Linked DNA regions of Homo sapiens: regions 2 and 3 are each linked to region 1. The links are contacts of gene promoters, found by promoter capture Hi-C in blood cells and fetal thymus (Javierre and others, 2016). All regions are on one chromosome and are shown on one strand. Each heading gives the region's core, a stretch centred on a gene start or on the middle of the fragment in contact. The rest is flanking DNA. Distances are from core to core; before and after follow the strand shown.

The links. Contacts are between HindIII fragments. The CHiCAGO score rates a contact against its expected background, and 5 or more counts as called.
Region 2: a fragment that was not itself captured here is called in contact with the fragment with the promoter of AKIP1 in region 1 in 1 of 17 cell types (M0 macrophages); the score reaches 6.0 in M0 macrophages.
Region 3: a contact is called between a fragment that was not itself captured here and the fragment with the promoter of AKIP1 in region 1, in 1 of 17 cell types (M1 macrophages). The highest score is 5.6, in M1 macrophages.

The regions. Positions count from the first base shown.
Region 1 is chr11:8,908,093-8,912,460 of GRCh38, reverse strand. It overlaps AKIP1 (A-kinase interacting protein 1), which reads right to left and starts at 1,272. Exons shown (of 6, transcript NM_020642.4): 1 at 1,238-1,272; 2 at 790-1,017; 3 at 1-8. The coding sequence starts at 1,011. It also overlaps a transcript of DENND2B not described here. RefSeq lists enhancers at 968-1,057, 1,068-1,137 and a silencer at 1,228-1,507. The HindIII fragment of the contact is 8,527 bases long and covers 1-3,739 here.
Region 2 is chr11:8,628,307-8,632,410 of GRCh38, reverse strand. All of the region lies in intron 15 of TRIM66 (tripartite motif containing 66), which reads left to right. Among named protein-coding and RNA genes, the nearest start is that of STK33, 36 kb to the right of the region's middle. The HindIII fragment of the contact is 2,756 bases long and covers 651-3,406 here.
Region 3 is chr11:8,605,364-8,609,194 of GRCh38, reverse strand. No RefSeq gene overlaps it. Among named protein-coding and RNA genes, the nearest start is that of STK33, 13 kb to the right of the region's middle. The HindIII fragment of the contact is 1,481 bases long and covers 574-2,054 here.

The DNA of each region.
Region 1 (4,368 bases), core at 23-2,522:
TCTTCTCTCTATTTGAATAAATGGCACGTCACAGGTTAGCTCTAGGATTCCCTACTGGAGAATGAAGCCATTTTGGAAATAGTCTCCTTTTTACTTTTGGAAAGGCTCTGCAAGTTTATGTCAGAAAGAACGATGTTATTGAGAAAGAATTCCAACTCTAAAAGATAGACATGCAATTTATCCAGGATCTAAGAGACAGGCTTGCAGGCTTTCCTCTACTATCAGATGATAGCTGTAAGATTTTTTTTTTTTTTTTTTTTTTGAGACGGAGGTTTCGCTCTTGTTGCCCAGGCTGGAGTGCAATGGCGCGATCTCGGCTCACCGCGACCTCCGCCTCCCGGGTTCAAGCGATTCTCCTGCCTCAGCCTCCCTAGTACCTGGGATTACAGACATGCGCCACCACGCCCGGCTAATTTTGTATTTTTAGTAGAGACGGGATTTCTCCATGTTGGTCAGGCTGCTTTCGAACTCCCGACCTCAGGTGATCCGCCCGCCTCGGCCTCCCAAAGTGCTGGGATTGCAGGCATGAGCCACCGCGCCCGGCTAATTTTTTTTTTTTTTTTTAAGTAACCAACCAGGGCTGAACACTACCGTTATTCTACAGCTACCCAACAAGAATCTGTCAAATGTAAAGCGTTTTGAAAGGACTTTTCCATTCATTGTTCTGATCCTTTCCAGCTTCCGCTAAGGGAAGGTTTCCTCAGCTGCTTCTGCGCTGCGCACCCCTGGCTCCCAGCGGGCTACCGCGGCGCGAAGGACTGGGGCGGCCCCCGGCACAGCGACCCTCACCTCTCCCGGGAGAACGCGCTGCGGGCCGGCTGCCGGCTGTTTCTCTAGGTGGGGCGCCTCCCGGGCAAGGACCCCCATGCAGCCTTTGGGACGCTCCAGGGCATGCCAGTCCACCGCCCTCCTCTTGGCCCTCTCCAGCACTTCTAGAGCCAGCCTTGCTGAACGCTGCAGGGAACGTCGGTCCACCCCATTCAGCGCTGCGGCCGCCAAACAGTTGTCCATGGCTCCCTGAGTGGGCACACAACGTACAAACGCCGGCGGGTCAGCTGGGCCGCGGCGACCCTGCTCCAAATCCGGGTGGGAGCCCCAGCCTCGACCTCCCTGGAGACCACCGCTCCTGGTCCGCCCCCAACGCACACTCCAGCGGGAGCCCAGCCAGGACTAGGCCTAGCGCGCCCGCCCCTTCCATTTTCATCTACCCCTTCCGCTACTTAGGGAGCCCCCTCACCCGGCTCACTCGTCAAGGCGCATGCGCGCAACGCTATTCTAGGAAGAGGGACCAGGCCTAGCGCTCCCGGCGGCGCCGGCGCAGCTGGGCCATTGGCGGAAGGCGGGAGAGGCGGGAGAGGCGGGAGAAGTGGGGGAGGCGGGGCGGCTGGGCGGCCAAACACGCCTTCTGCGTCCCAGCCTTGGCGTCTGCGCGCGAGTTGCCTGGTTAACTGCTGAGCGCTGGAGGCGGGGCGCCGGGCGCTGGGGGCCGGGGGTCGGGGGTCGGGGGCCGGGGGTCGGGGGTCGGGGGCTGGGGGCTGAGGACTGAGTCGAGCCAGCAGCCCAGGGCATCTGTCCACGCTGTCAGAGGAGCCTCTGGGCGTGGGGCTGGCCCTTAGAGGGCTACTGCGCTGCTTAACTTGGTGGGTATAAAGGCAGGTCTCCTGTTGAGCTAAAAAATTATGGGGTACCAGCTAGGTAGGCAACATAGCGAGAACCCGTGTAGACACACACACACACACACACACACACACTAGCCAGGAGTGGTTATGGGGTACCAGCTAGGTAGGCAACATAGCGACAACCCGTGTCCACACACACACACACACACTAGCCAGGAGTGGTTATGGGGTACCAGCTAGGTAGGCAACATAGCGACAACCCGTGTCCACACACACACACAGTAGGAGGAGTGGTGGCGCGCATCTGTAGTCCCAGGTACTCGGGAGGGTCGAGGTGGGAGGATCGCTTGAACCCGGGAAGCGGAGGTTGCAGTGAGACGAGATCGCGCCACTGCACTCCAGCCTGGGCGACAGAGGAAGACTTCGTCTCAAAACAAAAACATCATGGGGAATAAGGCAAGTGCCTCCCGCGCCTCTTTCTGCTTGGTCTACATTTTGGGGTGTCGCTACTCTTGTTTGAGGAGGTGATTAGGCCAAACTGTGTGGCTGCCAAGGTGGCCTTTGGAGAAGGGAACAGCTCGGGATTGAGGCGAGACGGAGGCGGGGCTGTCTGCAGATGTTCCTGGCCCCCGGGGCAGGGGGCGCCTGAGAAGTTGTAGGGTCTCTCATAATCCCTCAGCGCAGCTCTCTCTCCCCTCCAGTGGGAAGTACGGATTCACATATTTTTGGAGACCTGTTCTCTTGGGGTCTGACTCCATCTTTTAGGAAGACTGCACCATGTTTAAGTAAGGAACTGTGAATGCTTACTTAAACCATGTTTAAGTAAGGACCTGTCACTCCACTCCGCTGGTTATTTGGTAGGAGATACAGCCCAGGCTCTCACTGCTAATTAGTGACTCAGCCGCACCACCCAGCGCAAAGCAAAGCGCCGATGCTTAGGAAGGTCCACTTTGAGGGACACGCTCAGTGGGGGTCACTTTAAGGAACACAAATAAATCCTCCTTTAAGTCTCCTCTGTGGTTCATGAAAAAGGAGAGAAACTCCATCCTCACCTAGTCTCAACAGATGGCTTGATGAGCAATTATCAGGTACCAGGTGAGTAGTAGCCGACCAATACGACCTCCTTCTATGCTACTTAACTTTTGCAAATTTCCTGCTTTCCCCTTATAAAAAAGAATAACAGTGAGTGAAACCCTACATTATTCTTGAGATGATTTTTTTTTCATTTTATTGGTATTCCAAAACATTTCCTTCAATAAGGGTTTATCAAGTGCCTCCTTTAGAACATAGTGGTTGTACGTGCATGGGGTCCTGTATATCCACTCGGGAGAGCTGGTTTGAATTCTGGCTCTGCCATCTTTTTTTTTCCATTTCTTCTCCTTCTCCTTCTCCTTCTCCTTCTTCCTCCTCCTCCTCCTTCCTCTTCCTCTTCTTCCTCTTCTTCCTTCTTCCTTCTTCTTCTTTTTTGTTTAATAAAGAAACGAGGGTATCACCCTGTCAGCCAGGCTGAAGTGCAGTGGCACGATCTCGGCTCACTGCAGCCTCGACCTCCTGGGCTCAAGCGATCCTCTTCTTCAGCCACCACGCCCTGCAAATTTTTTAAATGTTTCGTAGAGACAGGGTCTCCCTATGTTGCCCAGGCTCTCTGCCACTTTTTTGCTCTGTGGTTCTGGGCAAACATATTACTTCTTTGAGCCTCACTTTTCCTCATCTCTATATCTGGGGATTCCAATAGTACTAACTTCTTTAGACTGAGCTTCTTGAGGGAAGGGACTGTATCTGTAGTGTTTAGAGTTTAAGGTGCATCTAGTATTTACTATTTTGTCTGTCACAGTAAGGACTAAAAATAGCCCTTGAATGTGTGAATTGGGTTGCCATTAGGATTCTGTGAGATAATTCCTGTAAAATGCTTAGCACAGTGCCCGGCAAAGATAAGTGCTCCATAGACTTAGCTAGCATTAGTATGTGCCAGGCACTGCCCTAGGAGTTGTGGAGAACAGAATGTGGATCAGACTAAAGGAGAATAAAAAAGAGGAAAGAATGCACATAAAATCTATAATACCAAGAACAAAATATTCGGACATGCCATAAGATTGACACAGATAAAATGCTATCAAGCTTAGGAGACTATGTTCAGCTGGGAGGATCAAGAAAGGTTTTGCAGAGAATGTAGTTTTCAAGCTAGGCCTGATGGCCTAGGAATCAGTGAGAGAAGAGGTAGATAAGATACCCGTTAACTGCTTTTACAATAAGTGTGGTTGGAGTGGGACAGAATTTGGTCCTCTTTATTTTTTATGGATTTCAAGGTTTTAGCACATTCCTCATAGGGTTATTGTGAATATCAAGTAAGTTAATATCTATAAAGTGCATTTATAGTACTTGGTACATAGTAGGTGCTCAATAAATATTAGCTAGTATTATTATCTTAAGCTTCAGCCTGGTCTCCCAAAATATGCTCTCACTTACCCAGTATCATAGCCACACCTCATCTCATTTGTCTCTCTTCCCCATTCTATTTTAGTCATTCCAGTTGAGGCACTACTTTCTTTTTGTCAGGTCAGCTCTTTGAAACTTTTCCCAGTGGTTCCCAGTTGCCACCTCTGTTGCCATAGCCTTAAAAAAATTTTTTGTGTGTACTTTTCCAATCTAATTTAAATTATGTGTAGTTATGGTTTCTTCTCTCCCAATAGCCTTTCAATTCCTTGAAGGCAGAAACTGTTCCTTATTTGTCCCTAAACATTCCAGGACC
Region 2 (4,104 bases), core at 779-3,278, 280 kb after region 1:
TCAGCCATCTGATTCTGTTTCAAGATCTGCTACTGTTAAACCAGTCTACTTAATCTTGAAGCTGTTGAAGCATTCACTTTATTTATTTATTTATTTATTTTTTGAGATGAAATCTCACTCTGCCACCCAGGTTGGAGTGCAGTGGCATGATCTCAGCTCACTGCAACCTCTGCCTCCTGGGTTCAAGCAATTCTCCTGCCTCAGCCTCCTGAGTAGCTGAGACTGCAGGCGCATGCCACCACACCCAGCTAATTTTTGTATTTTTAGTAGAGACAGGGTTTTGCCATGTTGGTCAGGCTGGTCTCGAACTCCTGACCTCAGGTGATATGCCCGGCGCATTCACATATTTTGAGGATTTAATTCACCAATCTGTTTTCCTCTCTCTTGTTTCCTTAGCTAGACTGAAGGCCTTCAGTGTGTTTCCTAGACACAACTCCCAAATCTGTGGTCCCTTTTTCTATTGCATATTTACACAGTGGTCAGTTTCTGATTACTTTAACCACTAGAACAGAAATCTGAAACTAGAAGTGATGAGGCAAAGCTTTGGAACAGCAGCAAAAACAGCCATCACAAAACTCATGCATTATATTCTGTAGGAAATCATAAACTCATATGTGGGTATCTAGCCGGTGTTCTTGATCTAGCAAGCTTAAATATATGGTTTTCTTGGGAAAGTTTTAGTTTAGCTACATTATAGTAGTAAGCAGAGTAGAGGCAGGGAGTCAAGATTTCTATAAGGGCAGCTAACAAGGGAGAAGACAAGAAACATCACTTGGAAAAGTGCCACGGTATGAGGTCATTCACTGAAAGAACAAGCTAAGCCCTGCATTCTTAGAAGTTCCCGAAAGCATCACTGAATTACTTATTGGTTCATCCAAATTCCTTGATATCACTAAGAAATGGTCTCCTTAGCCTCCTTATGCTCTGCTTAATAAGACAGAAGAGTGTGTAAAGTGTTTTAGAAGTACTCCCATTTGAAATAATGTTTTTAAGCCAATTGCATTTTGTTATTGAAAGAGGTATGTTTCAGATAACTGGAAAGTTAATTTATGTGGAACACCACCCTATCTGCATTACTTTATCCCCAGCAATATTATCTTGCTGTAAGAACCTGAAATTTATATTAAACTCAGGGCATGTGCACTAAGTGTCTGTTTATTGATTTCTCAATCATTTCTTACTAGGGCACTAGCTTTCTAGCTTCTGGCACAGAATCAAGACTAGCCAGCCTGTTTTCAAGGCTGGTCCCAGATTCCTAGTCTTGGACCTGTATGAGCTTGGGAAATCTAGGTAATCACTCTGTGTCTCAATTTCCCTTCCTGTTAAAATGAAAGAGCAATGTTTTATCTGAATTTTGACAATACCATGTGGCAATCATTAGAATAATAATGTCAACACACTGAACTCTAGAAACACATCTGGGTGGTAAGAGTGAGGAGAGAGAGAGGGCAGCAGGTGACAGAGCACAGGTCAAGCAGAATTCAGGTTAGATGGGTGCAGGGTCACATAGGTGACTAGTAGCAGAGGTTGAAAGTCAGACAATTCAGGGAAGTCGTAGGTCAGGCAAGTTGTCAAGTTAGATGGTAAAGACAGGTAGGTTAAATAGGTTAACTGAATCCATTAAATTAATAGGTGAGGTAATTTCAGATAAGTCAGACAGGTGGCAGACAAAGATAAGGAGACAAAAAAGAGGCAAGAGGAAAGGGACAGGGACGGGGACACACAGTTTGGGGGAAGGGAAACGAGGATCGAGAGGAGATGCTAGTTAAGGGAGGTAAGAGGGGGCTCTGTAGGCTCAGGGTTGTCTCTCTCCATCTCCCAAAGATGACCTGAGCTGATTATCAGAGTGAATGTGTTTTGGCATTTTGACTCTTCCTCTCTGAACTAGAAAATAGTTTATTTTCAGTAGTGAATCTCAAAATATACCTTTTCCTTCATGAAATCTAGAGGTTTTGTATGTAAAGATGAAGTCAAGGTGTCAGTTACACAGTTGACAGCCTAGAAACCTCAGTGATAACCCTCTACGTACTTTATAGCTAGAAATACACATTCACCTCCTGTCATTTGACCTCTGAACAATCCTGGGGTCTAGAGGGTGGGTGGTATCATCTCCATTGACAAGTGAGCTCCCTTCTGCATGGGTGGCACCAAGTGTCAGACAACCTGGCCACGCTCTCAAGCCCTTTTCCAATCCCATCATGCTCTTGAGAAGTGCTTCCTCTCCTCCCAGGCCCTGGAGACTCAGCCTGCTTTCCTTGCTCTGAAGGTTGGCCCTACCCTTGCCCCCACCCATCTTGTAGCACTAGCAACAGACTAGGATGAAGGTTCTCAAATCTTCTTTTTCTTTTTGTACATGAAATAAGTACCTTTTGTTTTAATATTTTACAACCCTTCACTCTAGAGAGCCGATATAGTATAAAAATAACTAACACATAGCATATATAGGTTTCAGAAATGCCATTGTGTCTGCATAGCCTGTAAAAATGGGGTTGGGCTGGCTTTCTCACAGCACTTTCTCTGAGTCCCTTCCTCCGTGGAAATTTTCCACATTCTTGTTAATACTACCAGAGCTTCACCCCCTCTCCTGATAGCATTGGCCTCCTTGAGATTGGCTGTGGCTGTGAAAAGGAAATAAATCAGTCAAGTATGCAATATCTTGGGATGTATTGCTGACCTCGTATTGTCTTCTGGGCATTACGGGACCAGGTTCATCAGGTTCACCTCAAAATAAACTGCCATGGAGTTTCCGCAATTTTTCCACAGCTCAGTCTGCATGTCTTCCTCTCCCCTATCATTATGTTAACTCACATGTGCAATAGGTAATTAGGACAGGAGAGCCAATTTCCCACGAATATGATCTCTACCCCTAATCTGGGAAGTTTTGTCCTTGGGGATTTTATCTTGTGCATATCTTGTGACGTATGGCACCTGACCATTATTATTTGGGTGGTCTCACGTGGATTTTAGTGCTCTTAATGCTTGGCAACAAGGATCTCACTAAGAAGAGACATCTATATAATTCTCAATGTCCAGCATGGGTAGATTAAATGAGCGCCAAAACCACACTAAACATACATGTCAAATAGGGGAAAGGAGAAAGAATCCAGTGCAAAGGATTAGACTGTCATATATTGCAAAACGGAATGAAATAGTCACTGGGTGTTCTTGTTCATAGATAAGGAAATATAGAATATTAGAAAGCTATGGTAGTGCATAACCAGGACAACAAGGAGACATTAAGGAATGCAGGCCTGGGCATGTTTGAGATAGCCATTGATTTTTGGCCTTGGTCCCTTAAGCTGGGCTTCATTCCTAGCTTACCCAATTTGGTTTAAATATTCTTTCCACCTTGCTTCTCTTCAACCCTTCTTGTCTTGGCACTCAGACTGTGGAGGAAATGGAAGCTTTTTAAAAAACTGAACACTATTAAACTACTAAGGAAAATATAAAAAGCATACTTTTCTTTGGAGAGATAAAAGATATTTAACTCATCTGTGTTTAAAATTAAGAATAGAAAATATAAGCCTTACTAAAGCAGTTAAATTATAAGGGAAAGAGGTAGGGAAAGAAGAGAAAGAGATGATAAAAGAAAGCAGGACAGGAAGAGAGAGAAGGAGCTCATGAGAGAGGAGGGAGAGAGGAGAAGAGGGGGAAGGAAAAGAAATAGAACAGAATATGAGAGATAGTGAAGGGGAGTAAGCCCAGAGAGGTATGGAGGGAGACAAGTCAAAATTAAGTTGTAGCTTTGGTACCAAAGATCTGGATTCTCTCTCTTTTTTTTTTTTTTTTTTTTTTTTTGAGACAGGGTCTTCCTCTGTTGCCTAGGCTGGAGTGTAGTGGCACGATCTTGGCTCACTGCAGTCTCAACCTTCCGGGCTCAAGCAATCCTCCCACCTTAGCCTCCAGAGAATCTGGGACCACAGGCCCATGCCACCATGCCTGGCTAATTTTTCTATCATTTGTGGAGACGGGGTTTCACCATATTGCCTAGGGTGGTCTTGAACTCTTGGGCTCAAGCGATCTTCCCGCCTCGGTCTCCCAAAGTGCTGGGATTACAGGTGTGAGCCACCATGCCCAACCAAGATCTGGATCTAAATCTATAAA
Region 3 (3,831 bases), core at 65-2,564, 300 kb after region 1:
TAGCCAAATAATTTAAAAAGCAAAATTATAAAAAACAATTTCAAAAATTTGCAATAAAAGCTATATTTACCACAGACTGTAGGTGCAGCTTCATGTTTTATGTAGGGCTTCCTAGAATAAGAATGCCTGTTCTCTGGGAAGCACTCTTATCCATGGGCCCTGGAGTTATGCCCAGGTTGGAGAGGGGGACCCCTTGTCCTATAGACATCACTCCTGAAGGCCTTGCACAGAATATGCTTTGAGAAATGAGAGGGTGTAACCAATCCTTAGAGACAGCTCTGCAGTTGTAGCCAGTATCTGTTTTCCCTTTTTTTTTTTGACAAGCTCTTGCTCTGTCACCCAGGCTGGAGTGCAGTGGCATGATCATGACTCACTGCAGCCATGAACTCCTGGGCTTAAGCGATCCTCCTGCCTTGGCTTCCCAAAGTGCTGTGATTATAGGTGTGGGCACCCAGTCTGGGGTGTTTTTTGTTTCTTTTAGTTTTGTTTTTTACAGCAACTAACTATATTATAACCAGTATTCCAAAAACAGTGCTTTATTTGCTCACTGGGCTGGGACGATATTCCTAAGCTTTTTTGGAAATTGATGTACCCTTGATTTCCAGCTATGTCAGAGATGTAAGACCTGCGGAGGCCAAGCTCCACATTCGTGGAGAAAATAAGTATCTCCTTCATGCTTGTAAACAGGAACACCACAGCCTCGGTCTTGCCCCAGCCTAAGGGCTAAGGCCTGATGCTGGAGGAAGCAGTTGTTTGTATCTAGGACTCCTCATTTGTTCCAGTGGTTCCCATTTGTGGTGTGGCCCACTGACAATGTTGCTTTATGGTAAAGATTCTGCCAAGGCAGTGCCTCTGTGACTTTTGAAATTTATTAATTAGGGCTAGGCATGGTGGCTCACACCTGTAATCTTAGCACTTTGGGAGTCTGAGGTGGGAGGATCGTTTGAGCCTAAGAGGTTGAGGCTGCAGGGAGCCATGATTGTGCCACTGTACTATACATCCTGGGTGACAGAGAGAGACCCTGTCTCAATGAAAACATAAAAAGTAAATTTTATTAATTAGCTTAATAAAGGATTCGTCCTCTTTCTCCTACATAAACTGAATCTCTGGTAACCAAATAATTGATGAGGGAAGTTTCTTTTTAAAAAGTTTTCCACAGTAATTGAAGAAGGACTGATAGATTTAGAATATCATTTTTTAGCCCTCAATGAATGAATCTAGGCAATGACCATCTGTGGCTGCTCACATCACCAAAAAAGAGACGATCAGACATTGTGTGCATTTGTTTGTAAACAAATAGAATCTGAACCTAAACAAGTCTCTACATCTACCAATTTAAAGATTAATTCCCAATTGACAGGAAATGCAGAGAATAGAGGAACACCTTAAATGACTTCACAAGGATCCAGTCAGCAAAATCCAGTCTCCAAGGACCGATGGAACAAACAACTTGGTTTACATTACAAAGGGAAAAAAGGGAGATGGAGGGGAAACCTTAAAGAGTCTTAAAAAGCATATAAACCAATTGCACTATATAGAACTTACTTGCGTCTTGGTTTAAACACACTAAAAACATCATGAGACATTGAGAACATTTGAAGAGATAATGGCTGAGAACTGTCCAGAAGTGATGAATGACATGAATTCATAGCTATAAGATGTTGAACAAAATACACTTGAAAAATAAAAAGAAACTTGAAACGTATTGCAGTGAAACTTCAGAACACCCAAGACAGAGAAGATCCTACCAACAGCAGAAGGGAAGACGTAAATGTTACCTTCCAATGATTCTAGTGCTCCTCTCCTGAGTGCATGGGAAGATTGCACTACTGCACGCCACTTACTTATTTCAGGTGTGTTTATGAGACTTGAATTGGCCAATGAGAGTGGCAGTGATGTAGGTCATTGCTAGGTTGAATAAGAGCCAGTGCTTGATTCTCTGTTTATTTTCTCTCTTCCCTTACTGAGGTGATTCTGAGAGCATGCACTGATATGAAGATGCTTAAGTCTGAACCAGTCTGGTGTGCTGTGCTAATACATGGATAATATAAGCTTTGCAATATTTTCCATATCTGCAGCAAATTTTGCATGAATGAGGACTTTTGTTGTAAGTCAGTGAGAATTGTGTGTTATTTATTACTGCAGCATAGGCTGGCCTATAGTACAAAGAAGCTTGGGTTTCTCTGGAGAAAAAAAAATCAATAACAAAACACTAAGATCCAAGGCACTGGCCTAGCAAGCAGGTAGCAAGGAAACCGACATTGGTGACTAGAAGGATAGTGATTCAGGTTATGCAGTGGAAAAACATTTGGCAAAACTATAGTCTGAGATAACTTTGGAGTCACATCATGTACTTAATGAATTTCAATAGAGGGGAAGATATTGGAAAACAACATTGGTAGCCTACATTGGTTGATATTCTGTTTATCAAGCTATTTCAAGAAAGACATGAGTTCAGAAAAGAATTGCCCTGTTTTTAAGGAGTGAAAGAAAATACATAGTATACAAAAATCCAAGGACTTAGGGTTTTGAAGAGGTAATTGCTTCTTGACGCTGAAGACTAAGATAAAATTTAGAATTGAAGGCCCATTAAAATTCAGCCTTGAGGTAAGGATCATATTAAAAATATGGGCATAATATTCATTGTTAAAACCTTTGAATGGATTAAGGTACTTCAGGGAAAATATCAAATTAAGAATATAGTGCCCAGTAAAATCTTTTAGCTGGATAAGATTCAGTGAAAAAATTCTAAGGATGTGGCTTTTCCACCAAAGCCTGTGCGGAGGGAGGAGGAGGAGAGGGATAGAGAGAGACAGAGAGAGAGACAGACAGAGAGAGAGAGAGAGAGAGAGAGCAAGGCATGGGCATGTGAACTCCCCTTATCCTTGGCTTTGCTTTCTGTGATTTCAGTTGCCTCTGGTCAATGGCAATCTGAAAATATTAAATAGAAAATTCCAGAAATAATTCATGAGGTTTAAATTGCACACTATTCTGAGTAGTGTGATGAGATCTCTTACCACCCCACTCTATCCCACCCTGTCCTGCCAGGGACATGAATCATCACTTTTGTCTGGTGTATCCACTATATATACTACCCACCCTTAGTCCCTAGTAGCCTTCTTGGTTATTAGGTCAACAGATCATAAGAAGAAGGGTGAGCACAGTACAGTAAGATTTTTGAGAGAGAGATCACATTCACATAACTTGTGTTACAGTATACAAGTTATGTTTTTTTCTATTTTATTATTAGTTACTGTTAATTTCTGGCTGTGCCTAATTTGTGTATTAAACTTCATCATAGGTATGTTTGTATAGGAAACAACAGTATACAGTATGTTGGGTTCAGAACCATCCATGATTTCAGGCATCCACTGAAGATCTTGGCACATATCCCCCGTGGATAAGGTGGAACTACTGTAGTTCTCAAAAATAATTGCAGGTATAGCTTTCAGCCAGTGATGCTGCCTGCATTCCAATAGATAGACACATAATGAGGTGTGTTTGTTTGTTTTGAGGTGTGTTTGTTTGTTTTGAGACGGAGTCTTGATCTGTCGCCCAGGCTGGAGTGCAGTGGCAAGCTGTCAGTTCACTGCAGCCTCTGCCTCCTGGGCGCAAGCGATTCTCCTGCCTCATCCTCCTGAGTAGCTGAGATTACAGGCGCCTGCCACCATGCCCGGCTAATTTTTCTATTTTTAGTAGAGATGGGTTTTCACCATGTTGGCCAGGCTGGTCTCAAACTCCTGACCTCAGGTGATCCGCCTGCCTTGGCCTCCCAAAGTGCTGGGATTACAGGTGTGAGCCACTGTGCCCGGCCCATAATGAGGTTTTTAG